4 separate regions of the Homo sapiens genome follow, and regions 1, 2 and 3 are each linked to region 4. Evidence: promoter capture Hi-C in 16 types of primary human blood cells and fetal thymus (Javierre and others, 2016). All regions are on one chromosome and are shown on one strand. The core of a region is centred on a gene start or on the middle of the fragment in contact, and the rest is flanking DNA. Distances in the headings are between cores, read along the strand shown. Region 1 holds the start of TMEM237 (transmembrane protein 237). Region 2 holds the start of TRAK2 (trafficking kinesin protein 2). Region 3 holds the start of CATSPERT (catsper channel auxiliary subunit tau). Region 4 overlaps CASP10 (caspase 10).

Region 1 (3,043 bases), core at 544-3,043, 460 kb before region 4:
AGTTGTTGTCTGCCATACAGAAGGCTCAGGAGGAGCCTCAGTGGGTACCAGCAACATGGATTTCCTCAGATACTGAGTCTCAATGAGACTTCTTGTTTAATGCTGGAGTTTTAACACTGTACCCTTGATACAGCGATCCATAGTTGCAATCTAAAACAACAGTATTTGACCCATTTTAATGTGTACAACTTTAAAAGTGCAGCAATTTATTAATTAATCTTATTTGAAAAAAATTTTTATTGTATGGTTATGTGGTTACCTATTTTAACTTAATTTTTTTTCCTTTACCTCATATGCAGCTGTGGTAGAAATATGAATAATGTTAAGTCACTGAGTATGAGAACCTTTCGCAGATTTCACATGATCTTTTTAAGATTTAAATAAAGAGCTTTCCTAAATAAAATAAGCAATAGTTAACTTTAGAAACTGTACTCTATGAAACGTGTTTTATGAAAACATCTTTTACAAAAAGTGCTTACTTGACTAACTCAGCAAGAAAGGTTTAATGTACACATTTCACATCTAAAATCAAAACCTACAAGAAACTGCACTGCCTTCACTATTTACAAATCGGCCTACAAGGAAAAAATTATTCTCATGAGAGGTGTGACAAACACTAATTTTCCTTAACAGCCAATATCTACATGCAGGCCTAAATTAGAAAAAGGCAATGGATTAATCCCAGAGACCTATATATAGAAAATCACAAGAGTGAAACCGTGTCTCAGAGTTAAAGAAACCAGGGACTAACAGAAATTCTTGAGCATGCAGGACGGCAGATAAAAAACAACTTGCTAAATAAAACGCCTAAACTTCTTCCATTGTGAGATTAAAAAACAAAACAAAACAAAACAAAGCAAACTGGCTGAAAGTGGTTAGTACTAACACGGATGGCTACCTGGAGTCTGTACAAAATGAGCTTGCTGGCGTCACAGCTTGAATCTTTCCCCATGTTTCACACTGACTCCCTCCAAAATTTGCACATGCGACCCATGAAGGGACATGAAGAGGTAACTGCGAACGCCAGAGGATTTTCCAGATGGCTTCTTTCCTTCCACCAATCACCTACTAATCCCAGAATCCACCCCCTAAACGTTTTCTAATAAAAATACTGTCTTAAAGCCAACACAGGGAGACAGATTAGAGCTATACTCCTGTCTCCTTGTTAGCTGACTCACAATGAAAACTTTTCTCAAAAAATCAGCGCCATAATATTGGCTTCTGTGCGTATAGGGCAACAAGCCCCGTTTGTTTGGTAACAAGATTAGGATGCCATTACAAAGTGCTGTTTCTCTTTCTTTCCCCAGATTTGAGATTTCCAGGCGCTTTCCCTGTCCCTGTATCTGTTCATCTTCTGCATCATTCTCTTCTCCATATCCACACCATTCTTCCATCTTTCCCATTTCTTTCTTAACTGTAAAACAGAATGCATGATTCAAAATATTTGTAGTTCTCTGTTACTTAAAGTGAAAGTTATCTTTAAAAAAAAACAAACCCAACCAAACCAAACGATGCAAATCAGGTAGTTTGTAGTGATATTTATGTGAGGTTGGATTTGATTTTAAGGTTGAGAAAAAGTTTTTCCAAATTTGATTTACACAGTTGTGGGATGAAGGGTAAGCAATCGGAGAAAATGTGAGAATTGCCTATATTAATACACATCCACACACCCAGGCCTGCACAGACTCGTTGGTCCTGGAGAGTAAACGCATTCCTCCCAAACCCAGCAGCGCCTGGCAGGACAGAGGCGGGCGGGGACCTGGCTCAGGGGGCGGCTGCCTCGCCAGGCGCCACGAAGCCCCGGCGTCCCACAGGTCCCGGAGGCCGCTGCGTCGCGGGGAGCTGGGCTCGGGCCGCCGGCGGTTGCGCCGGGGCAGCCCCGCGGGGAGAGCACCATGAGGACTGACTCGGGGGCTCGGCTGGAGGAGGGCCACCTGGTGAGCGGCGAGGGGCGCGTCGGCCTCGAGAGGTGGCGGGTAAACAGCTACACTTGGCAGTGGGGGTGGGTGTGTGTGGGGGGGCGCCAACGAGCTGGGAATCACTAAGGGAGGGCCTTGCTCGTGGGGTGCGCGCATCCGCCCCTCCAGTGTTCACAGGAATGGGACGGAGACGCAGGCGAGGCCGGGACCGAACTCCCGGAGTGGGAGAGAGAGGCCTGGCATGAAGTTTGCGGGGACCTGAGCCCGCGTTGCCACGACGACGCCTCACTCATCTGAGGCCCGGGGCCCGGCGGGTGCCGGGGCTTCCAGCCAGGCCTCTCCTAGACTCCTCCGAGGAGAGGTCTGTAGCTGCCCAGAAGAGATCTGTTCGCCTGCGGAGTCCTTTAATTAAGGTCTTCCGTCACGCCCCGCTTCCCGCAAACAAATCACCGCCACCACTTAGGAAACCACGGGAAAGCTGTGATTGCAGCGCCACGGTCGCCAGATTTCTGCTCCTGGGCACATTACCCCCAACTCCGAGGCCCCCTTTTTGGCAGGGCTAGTCTGGACTGGCCAATCCAGGTCCCTGCACGCCTCTCACCGCAACATCCCCGCAGGGCGCTGCGCGCGGGGTACTAGCCAGGCGGCGCGGCCCGATGACGCATTGCGCCTGCGCGCGCGACCGAGCCGGGAGGGGTGGGGCGCCAGGTGCTTGGGGGCCGGCGGCCGCCGAGGCCGGCTAAACGCAGAATGGGGAAGAATCCTGTGGTAAGCGAGCCTTAGCTACTTTTAATTGTTAGGATTTTTGTCTTCAGTTGAGCCGTCCTACTTTTGAGGATTAGAGGTTGGGTCTCTGGGTGGGTGGAACGTCATTTTTGCGGGACTTTTGAAATCAGTTACGTGAACAGAGCCCTGGGATCGATCGCGCGCGCTTCGTAGCATCTTTAGAACAATAGCGCGTTCCTGTGACTGTCATTCTTCTCCAATTGTAATTTTGACTACTGGATGGTATTACGGCAGCTTGCCTCGTCCTAATCTTGTAGTACTTGCATTAATCTACTGTTCGAACGAATGGATTGCTAAATGGGACAAACTACAAGAGTGTCTAAAATTTAACCCTTTTG
Region 2 (3,242 bases), core at 530-3,029, 270 kb before region 4:
TATTTTTTTCTCTTTTTCAGAAAAGCTCAGAAGAAACAGACACAATCTGGTAAGAATTGTTAGTAATAAAAGGGTTGTCCCTATGGGGTGGTTTAATCTCAGAGATTTTTGCCTTAGATACACCAGACTATTAAGAGATAATTTTACAAGACATTTTGAGGTCAAGGCAGCAGCTGCACCCAGCAAAGGGGTGGGGGTGGGGGATTTGCTGTTATTATAATTTTCTCCGGCATGCTCTTTCACGAGATATGAATATAAACCCTTTCTTAAAAAAAAGTCATATTTAAGAGACTTATATTTCGTATTCACAAGTACATCAGTGCAGTCCCTTACACTTGTATCCAAAACGCTAATTACGATAAAGCTTTATAAGTAATTTCAGTTTGTTCCATAATAGAATGGTTCATGTGAAGACTTTGATCTGAAAGATTAACACTTTCTGTAGAAACCAAAGGGCGCATCTTCTAGAACACGGGTTTTGAGTTAATTTAGGCATTCAACAGAGGCCACTGTTACAGGGAATGCAAAAATGACCCGATGTAACTCTTTGTTGAGCTTTAAAATTACTGTAATTTTCAAAGTGATCTTGGGAACCCATAAAATCTTAACAAAGATCATAGCGACGCACAGTTCAGGAGAATTTTCCAAGCTTAGTGACTCATGCGTTCAACAAATCTTTACTGAGCGCCTACTGGGTGCCAGGCACCGTGCTAAGCAGGCGCCGTGTTACACATCCGTATCAAGTTTTGGGGAAAAGGTACTTGACAAAGACCCAGCAGGGAAAAACACAGCGTTGAATTGAAAAACCGAAGACAAAACGACACTCGAGTATTTAATTTTGTAAAAGGTTCCTTCCTAGTCCTGCTATGGGGGACTTTGCAGCGAACTTGCAGAAGGCGGCAGATAGAGCTGGGGTCTGAGGGTGTCTTCGATATGGCAACTCCCCAAGCCCGAGAGCGCGGCCAAAGGTGAGGGGTGCGGGGAGAGGGCGCCCGGGCGGCCTGGGCCCCGCGCACCTGGCACGGCCGGCACGGCCAACCCGGCAGGCACCACTGGGCGGGCTGCGAACCCGCGGCCCGGGCCCCGCTGAGCCCGAGCTGCACTGGCGCAGTGGCTGCTCGCCACCTCGGGCCGCATTCTTGCCACGGCTCCCGCCAGCCGCCGGTGCTCGGGCTGGAGGTGGGCTAGCGCGTTCTGGCCTCTGGCTTCCCGGGCGTGCGCGGACCAAGGCTCACTCCCTCACACGTCCCCCACCGGCCCCGACACCTTCCCTTCCCGGGCCTGCCTCCCGTCTTTACCCTAGCGGCGACCACGGCCAGCGACTCTCTTCAGGCTGCCAGCGGTGCGGACAGGGGCGGGCGCCAGAGCCCTGCTCGCGGAGGGGCGAGGCGAGCGCTCTAGGCCCGCTCCCGGCGCGGGGCGCGGGAGGGCGGCGAGGCCGCGACCGGGGCCGTGGGCTTGGAACTCTGCACCAGTCCCAGGCTACCCGCTGGGAACGCATTCGCCCCACCCGCGCCGGGGTCGCGGCCCCGCCTCCCTCCCCGGGGCTGGGCAGCGAGAAGGCGGGGCCTTCGAGCTTGAGGCGGGGCGGGCAGGAAACTACAATTCCCAGCAGGTCTTGCGCTGGGGCCGTGGAGGCCGCTGGGAGAGTGGCTCTCCTTTGGCTTCCCCAATTGTGTGGGGGCTGCCATTGACCCGGTGTCGCCGCAGAACCGAGGTCGCCGAGTGATGATGTTGTGAAGTCGCCCGCCTGTCCCTGCCACGCCCGGGCGGTTGCTGGCAGTGGGAGCAGCGGCAGCAGCTTCGGCTGCTGCTTTCAGGCTGCCGCTGCATTAGGGGCTTCCTGAGGAAGCGCGGGCGGACGACAGAGGATGCCGAACCACTCCAGTGAGTAAGCTGTCCGCGCAGAACCCGAACTTGCCCTTGACAACTTCCCCGGAAAGCGGAGGGACCTCCTCGTCCCAAGGTCCTCCGGTACCCGGAGGTCACGCGCGGACGTCGGAGCCGGAGGCTGGGTGCTGGAGGGCTGGGTCCGGGTCCCGCGGTGAGGCGTGGGTTGTTTCCTAAGTGTGGGTGCAAAGTAATGGGCGCTAGGCGCTGGCGTCGGTATTCAGCCCAGCTGCACATCTGAGGCTTGGCAGCTTCTCATAGCGCCTTATCCTCTGCCATACAGCATCCATCTGGAGCCCTGTCTTTTAGGATGAGTGGCTTTAGGGTCGGGCATTAAACCTTAAGCTTCAGTCGCCATCTGTGATGTAAGTGGGAGGAGAGGGTATTGGAAAGAGCTCTTTCTGGGTCAAATAGAGTTGGGCTTTTCTTGCAATTGATTTTGAGCCAGATGCCACATATCTTGAAAAAGAAAAACGGCTGACTTTAGTTTGAAGCGTAAATAATAGATATTCGCACATGTCCTTTTTAGTAGCAGCCCAAAAATTGAATTTCAACTTAAAAAAAAATCTGCGTCATAATAATAGGGATGTTACTTGCTCTTGCTCATGCACCTTTTGCTTAGACCTGCTGTTTCTACGTCAGAAAAAAAAAAAAAAAAGGTAACTTCACAGGATATTCATCAAGTTGATGGAATGGACCATAGGAACAAAAGGAACACTTTCAGTTCTTGGTCTCCGTAAATCTTCCCGACCTTTAGATCTTTGCTGTTGACTTGGAAGTCTGAGGTACAGTAGTCTCCAAATAGCAGGTTAATGGTGGTGACATGACACTTAAAAACAAATTGTGAAGGACATTTGGAGGTGAGAAAGGTCAGGGATGAAGACATTTTATCATCCTAGCAGTTATTCCAACTTTCTTTTCTTTTTTTTTTTTAAGACAGAGTCTCGCTCTGTCGCCAGGCTGGAGTGCAGTGGGGTGATCTCGGCTCACTGCAACCTCCGCCTCCCGGATTCAAGCGATTCTCCTGCCTCAGCCTGCAGAGTAGCTGGGACTACAGGCGCGCACCACCACGCCCAGCTAATTTTTGTGTTTTTAGTAGAGATGGGGTTTCACCATGTTGGCCAGGATGGTCTCGATCTCTTGACCTCATGATCCACCCGCTTTGGCCTCCCAAAGTGCTGGGATTACAGACGTGAGCCGCCACACCCAGCTCCAGTTTTCTATTTTTAAAATTAAGTAATGTCCAGCAAGTCTCAGACATTTAGCAAGCACATACCATGTGAAAGACAGTGTTTTGTTATCTTACACACTTATTCATATGATGGAAGAGGTTTGTTAGAAAGAACCAACAT
Region 3 (3,353 bases), core at 162-2,661, 430 kb before region 4:
CTCAAAACAATCATTTTTGCTTTAAAAACCGTTGTCTTCCTTGACCTCCCTGTATATGCACATAGTTTACTGTGGCACTTGTATTCTTATTGCAATGCCTACTCCTGAATAAACATCATTTTCTTTCAGAGAGTCTCCCTCTCTGTTATTTAGGCTGACAAGGATATGCCAAGAAGTAGCTTGGATATAGCAGTTAACTCTGCCTTTAGGATATGTGTATGGGGATATAAGAGTTAACTAAAAGCTGACCTTTGAGTTGGTCCTTGAATAAAAGAAGAATAGATTCCAAAAATAAGAGGAATAAATAATGATCCTGAGCTAGGAGAGTACATTTTGCAGACCTTTGGTTTCCATATTAAGAAATTCAGATTTTTATGTACAATAAAGAAGTTCTGGAATTCTCTGGTTTTGTTCTGTTTGCATTTATTTATATTTTTAACTTTTAGGTTCAAGGGTACATGTGCAGGTTTGTTATATAGGTAAATTTTGTGTCATGGGGGTGTACAGATTATTTCATCACCCAGGTAATAAGCCTAGTGCCCAAAAGGTAGTTTTTGATCCTCTCCCGCCTCCCACCCTTCGCCGTCAAGTAGGCCCCAGTGTCTGTTGCTCCCCTCTTTGTGTCCATGTGTTCTCATTGTTTAGCTCGCATTTATAAGTGAGAACGTGGTATTTGGTTTTCTGTTCCTGTGTTAGTCTGCTTAGGATAATGGCCTTCAGCTCCATTCGTTACTGCAAAGGACTAATACGGGGGCAGTGAAAGGGATGGATGACAGCAGGTTGGCAGACCCATGAGTAAATCATTGCAATTGTCTCGTGTGTGTGTTGTCCCAAATTAGGTGCCATAAAGGGAAAAGGTAAGTAAGATTCAGATATTTAGGGTCAGAATTTTAAAATGTGTCTGAATGTTTAAGATTTTGTGGATATGACATTGCTGCACCAAATGAGTTTGGAACCTACTAGAGGTTTAAGAGGGAAGATGAATATTAACGTGTTATGTGTCTGTGGAACAATTGGGTAAAGATGTCAAAGTAGACTGTTGGATATTTAACGTCTGGAGCTCACGGGACAGTGTAGAGGAAGTAATGACTGACACTGTAAATCTTCTAGAAAGAAATGGTGCAGGGAGAAAAGGACTCGTGAGGGCTACAGGGCGGACAAGACAGTGAACTAAAGTGGTTGGGCCCCATGAGGGGCCTTGCTCTCCACCAGCGTGCTCTGATTTCCTTCTAAAGGAGACTGAAATGGCCTGGCAAGTGCTTGCAGCAGACCCTCCAGGCTCGCTAAGCACGCATGCTTCCAAAGCTGCCTCCAGCCACTCCCAGCATGGGCCCGGCCTGAGTGGGTCACTAGGCGGCACGCACGCGCTGGGAAAATGTGAGAAAGGCTGCGGGAGGGCCGCGCCTGCGCAGTAGCGGGCCGTCGGTTGGGCGCAGACAGGCCGCAGAAGATGGAGAGATGGAGCCACCCCAAGAGACAAATAGGCCTTTCAGCACACTTGATAACCGCAGCGGGCAGGTCCAAGTCCTGTCCGCCACCCCGCTATTGCAGAGGAATCCCTACAGCAGCCCGGATATCATGCACATTAAAGGGTCGGAGGCTTCTTCGGTCCCTTACGCCCTGAACCAGGGCACGACGGCCCTGCCTAAGAACAAGAACCAGGAGGGCACCGGGCACCGGCTGCTGAACGTGAGTGAGCGGGGGCCTGGCCGGCACCTGGAGGACCGGGGCCAGCAGGGCACCTGGAGGGTGGTGAAAGGATTAAAGGGTTCAATGTGTGCCAATTGCATCTCCCTTCAATTGGCACACATTGAACCCTTTAATCCTTTTTTTTTTCGTTTATAGCAATTCCTTTTTTTTATTTTTATTTTTTATTTTTTATTATACTTTAAGTTCTAGGGTACATGTGCACAACGTGCAGGTTTGTTACATAGGTATACATGTGCCATGTTGGTGTGCTGCACCCATTAACTCGTCATTTACATTAGGTATATCTCCTAATGCTATCCCTCCTCCCTCCCCCCAACCCACGACAGGCCGTGGTGTGTGATGTTCCCCCCCCGTGTCCAAGTATTCTCATTGTTCAATTCCCACCTATGAGTGAGAACATGCAGTGTTTGGTTTTCTGTCCTTGCGATAGTTTGCTGAGAATGATGGTTTCCAGCTTCATCCATGACCCCACAAAGGACATGAACTCATCCTTTTTATATGGCTGCATAGTATTCCATGGTGTATATGTGCCACATTTTCTTAATCCAGTCTGTCATTGATGGACATTTGGGTTGGTTCCTAGTCTTTGCCATTGTGAATAGTGCCATAATAAACATATGTGTGCACGTGACTTTATAGCAGCATGATTTATAATCCTTTGGGTATATGCCCAGTAATGGGATGGCTGGGTCAAATGGTATTTCTAGTTCTAGACCCTTGAGGAATCGCCACACTGTCTTCCACAATGGTTGAACTAGTTTACACTCCCACCAACAGTGTAAAAGCGTTCCTATTTCTCCACATCCTCTCCAGCACCTGTTGTTTCCTGACTTTTTAATGATTGCCATTCTAACTGGTGTGAGATGGTATCTCATTGTGGTTTTGATTTGCATTTCTCTGATGGCCAGTGATGATGAGCATTTTTTCATGTGTCTGTTGGCTGCATAAATGTCTTCTTTTGAGAAGTGTCTGTTCATATACTTTGCCCACTTTTTGATGGGGTTGTTTGTTTTTTTCTTGTAAATTTGTTTCAGTTCTTTGTAGATTCTGGATATTAGCCCTTTGTCAGATGGATAGATTGCAAAAATTTTCTCCCATTCTGTAGGCTGCCTGTTCACTCTGATGCTAGTTTCTTTTGCTGTGCAGAAGCTCTTTAGTTTAACTAGATCCCATTTGTCGATTTTGGCTTTGGTTGCCATTGCTTTTGGTGTTTTAGTCATGAAGTCCTTGGCCATGCCTATATCCTGAATGGTATTGGCTAGGTTTTCTTCTAGGGTTTTTATGGTTTTAGGTCTAACATTTAAGTCTTTAATCCATCTTGAATTAATTTTTGTATAAGGCGTAAGGAAGGGATCCAGTTTCAGCTTTCTACGTATGGCGAGCCAGTTTTCCCAACACCATTTATTAAATAGAGAATCCTTTCCCCATTTCTTGTTTATGTCAGGTTTGTCAAAGATCGGATGGTTGTAGATGTGTGGTATTATTTCCGGGGGCTCTATTCTGTTCCATTGGTCTATATCTCTGTTTTGGTACCAGTACCATGATGTTTTGGTTACTGTAGCCTTGTAGTATAGTTCGAAGTCAGAAAGCATGATGCCTCCAGCTTTGTTCTTTTGGCTTAGGATTGTCTTGGCAATGTGGGC
Region 4 (2,990 bases), core at 487-2,986:
CAGACCCGTCCTCACCTAAACAGAGAAACCCTTTGTCGGGTGGGCAGCAGTCGCTCCACTTCCTCTTTGGTACAGTTGAGGTGCTGCAGCAGCTTCTTCTGCCGTATGATATAGAGGAGTTCTGCCAGGAAGAAAGGGTCTTCCTCACTCAGCAGATCCTCTGCCAAGAGATGTTCAAAAACATCTGAGGCTGAGCTGGACTTCTCCAGCTTCTTGTTGGGGACCAATCCTATGCAGAGAAACTTGAGGTTCTCCACATCTTGGACCCCCAGGTTTGAATCAATAATCAGAAGCTTCTCACGAAAGCTCACTTTACAGTTTTTATCTGAACTGGAATACCAATGTTGACCTTGAGATTTCATGGCCAGCCTGAAAGGGACAGAGAGGTGGGGCAGGGAGTTAGAGAGTGAGGACATATGGCCCCCTGACTTCCCAGGCCCTCCCCTCACCACAACCTTCTCCGTTCTGGGCATTAGACTTTCCTAGAAGTGCTGAAAAATAAAAATTACGGCGAGGCTACTTCAAAAAGCAACAGCCCAGAAAACTTTTCCCCAACACTTGCAAGTTACTTTTTAGGAAACTTGGAGGGTGCTTATATTGGAATTCAATTCACCTTGATTTCTCCCAAATCAAAATGTTCCCAGAGAGAGAAAGTTAAGATGGAGGGACACAGCACAATTTTTCTCAAGCCTGGTAGCCTGATTGGAGCCCTTACATTCATTTCCAGCACGTGGCAGAAATAGCACTTGGCTCTATGCTTTAAGTTTTAGACACAAAGCAATCTGGGGGAGGCAGGGTTATCCTTATGATCTATCAACCCAAAGACAGCAAGGTACCGTGAGGTATGTGTGTTACATCTTAACTTCAGACTGCTACCTGTAAGAGGGCAGGCCTTTATCTTACAGAAAGGGAAGGCATAATCCTAGACCTCAAGCCTGAGCAACATGGCGAGACCTGGTCTCTACTAAAAATACAAAAAATTATCAGGGCATGGTGGCACATGCCTGTGGTCCCAACTACTCAGGAGGCCGAGGATGGAAGGATCATTTGAGCCTGGGGAGCACAGGTTGCAGTGAGCCATGATCATGCCACTGCACTTCACCCTGGGTGACAGAGTGAGACCCTGTTTCAAAAAGAAAAATAAATAAATAAAATATCCTAGACCTCAGGAGGAAAGGGTGGTTTTAGACAAGAGTTGCTCAAATCAGTGTAGGAAGTTAAAAATTACATGAGTCGGCTGCTCTGTCTATGGAGTAGCCATTCTTTTGTTTCTTTACTTCTCTAATAAACTTGTTTTCACTAAAAAAAAACAAATTACATGAGTCAATGTTTCCATCTGATCAGTTTATAAACTATGCTATTCTCTATACTAAATTTCATCATAATCAGAGGAGCAATGCAGTGATAAAATTTTCATTGTAATACTATTTATTCTATAAGCACTTGAGGTATGTAGTCAATATGCAGAACTTGGCTATTTTTAGAAACAAGAAAATACTTTATAAAGGAAGGAACAGGTGGGGTGTCATGGCTTACGCCTATAATCCCAGCACTTTGGGAGGCCAAGGCGGGTGGATCACTTGAGGCCAGGAGTTCAAGACCAGACTGGGCAACGTGGTAAAACCCCATCTCTACAAAAAATACAAAAATTAGCCAGGCATGGTGGTGCACGCCTGTGGTCCCAACTACTCAGAGGGCTGAAGCAGAAGGATCATTTGAGCCCCGGGGATGGAGGTTCCAGTGAGCCATGATTGTGCCACTGCACTCCACCCTGGGTGACAGAGCAAGACCCTGCCTCAAAAACAAAACAAAACAACAACAAAAAAACCTCCTAGACCTCAGAAGGAAAGGGTGATTTTAGACAAGAGTTGCTCAAATCAGCGAAGGAAGATAAAAATTACATGAGTCAATGTTTCCATCTGACTAGTCTATAAACTATGGTATTCTACATACTAAATTTCATTATAATCAGAGAAGCACTTCAGGAGACTGAGGCAGGTGGATCACTGTGAGGCCAGGAATTCGGGACAAGCCTGGGCAACACGGTGAAACCCCGTCTCTACAAAAAATACAAAAATTAGCTGGGCTTGGTGGTGTATGCCTGTGGTCCCAGCTTCATAGGAAGCTGAGATGGGAGGATTGCTTGAACCTGGGAGGCGGAAGTTGCAGTAAGCCAAGATTGTGCCACTGCACTCCAGCTTGAGTGCTGGAGGGTGAAAGAGGGAGACTCCGTCTCAAATAAATAAATAGATAAATAAATAAATAAATAAATAAATAAATAAAGGAAGGAAGACACAGCAAAAATCAAAACCTCCATAACAAACAGTGGTTATATCGAGGTGACATAACTATAGATAATACAAATTTCCTTCTGGGCTTCCAATTGAATTTCTCAAATTTTATGCATATGTGAGCATACACATTACTTTTGGTGTTAAAAGAAACAAAAAAATGTCATTTTTAATGTGATAATCCAGGGGATCTTCCCTGCTACTAGCCCTGAGGTCAAATGAGTGGTTTATTGGAGACACCTTTCTATTCTACCGCATCTAGCATTTGCCTTGTGGTTTCTTGACAATTCTGATCTCTAGTTTTAGTGAGTCTACCAAACTTTGTCTCTGTGAGCTAACATATTTCTGCCCCGGTAAAAGGCTATGTTGGAGGCTTCCGGATTTTTTAACTTTTGTTTTCCCAGGCATGACAAAGAAATCTAAGAAAAAATAGTGCCATTGCTGACAAGTTTTTGCAAGTTTCTACAACACGAAGCCATGAAGCAAAGGAAAAGATTCAAGCATGAGACTCTGGAGTAAGAAGGGTTGTTAATTACATACCTTCAGATCAAGCTCCACCAATCTTCTGGAAGTAAACGGTTCTCAGGGAAATTGCCTGAAAACAAAGTTTTAAAGAAAGTAGAATCCTCTGTGTGCTCCAAGGTCCAAAGAAGCTCCCATTTGCTTGGGAAGAGACTTCAAGACTTGCTGGTTGTTTAA

What was found. Contacts are between HindIII fragments. The CHiCAGO score rates a contact against its expected background, and 5 or more counts as called.
Region 1: a contact is called between the fragment with the promoter of TMEM237 here and a fragment that was not itself captured in region 4, in 1 of 17 cell types (endothelial precursors). The highest score is 5.9, in endothelial precursors.
Region 2: the fragment with the promoter of TRAK2 here is called in contact with a fragment that was not itself captured in region 4 in 10 of 17 cell types (naive CD4 T cells, fetal thymus, non-activated CD4 T cells and 7 more); the score reaches 9.7 in naive CD4 T cells.
Region 3: a contact is called between the fragment with the promoter of CATSPERT here and a fragment that was not itself captured in region 4, in 1 of 17 cell types (endothelial precursors). The highest score is 5.7, in endothelial precursors.

Annotation. Positions count from the first base shown.
Region 1 is chr2:201,642,253-201,645,295 of GRCh38, reverse strand. TMEM237 (transmembrane protein 237) reads left to right here and starts at 1,793. Exons shown (of 13, transcript NM_001044385.3): 1 at 1,793-1,937. The coding sequence starts at 1,896. It overlaps MPP4 (MAGUK p55 scaffold protein 4), which reads left to right. Exons shown (of 22, transcript NM_033066.3): 22 at 1-422. The coding sequence ends at 86. RefSeq lists silencers at 1,675-1,934, 2,505-2,694. The HindIII fragment of the contact is 8,699 bases long and covers 1-3,043 here.
Region 2 is chr2:201,449,995-201,453,236 of GRCh38, reverse strand. TRAK2 (trafficking kinesin protein 2) reads left to right here and starts at 1,779. Exons shown (of 16, transcript NM_015049.3): 1 at 1,779-1,887. STRADB (STE20 related adaptor beta) reads right to left here and starts at 1,497. Exons shown (of 12, transcript NM_018571.6): 1 at 1,299-1,497. RefSeq lists a silencer at 927-1,606 and enhancers at 1,637-2,166, 1,570-2,424. The HindIII fragment of the contact is 1,586 bases long and covers 652-2,237 here.
Region 3 is chr2:201,617,236-201,620,588 of GRCh38, reverse strand. It overlaps CATSPERT (catsper channel auxiliary subunit tau), which reads left to right and starts at 1,411. Exons shown (of 16, transcript NM_001168221.2): 1 at 1,411-1,689. The coding sequence starts at 1,459. TMEM237 (transmembrane protein 237) reads left to right here. Exons shown (of 13, transcript NM_001044385.3): 13 at 1-403. The HindIII fragment of the contact is 11,514 bases long and covers 1-3,353 here.
Region 4 is chr2:201,183,150-201,186,139 of GRCh38, reverse strand. It overlaps CASP10 (caspase 10), which reads right to left. Exons shown (of 10, transcript NM_032977.4): 1 at 2,832-2,990; 2 at 16-369. The coding sequence starts at 362. Among named protein-coding and RNA genes, the nearest start is that of CASP10, 1.5 kb to the right of the region's middle. The HindIII fragment of the contact is 2,882 bases long and covers 296-2,990 here.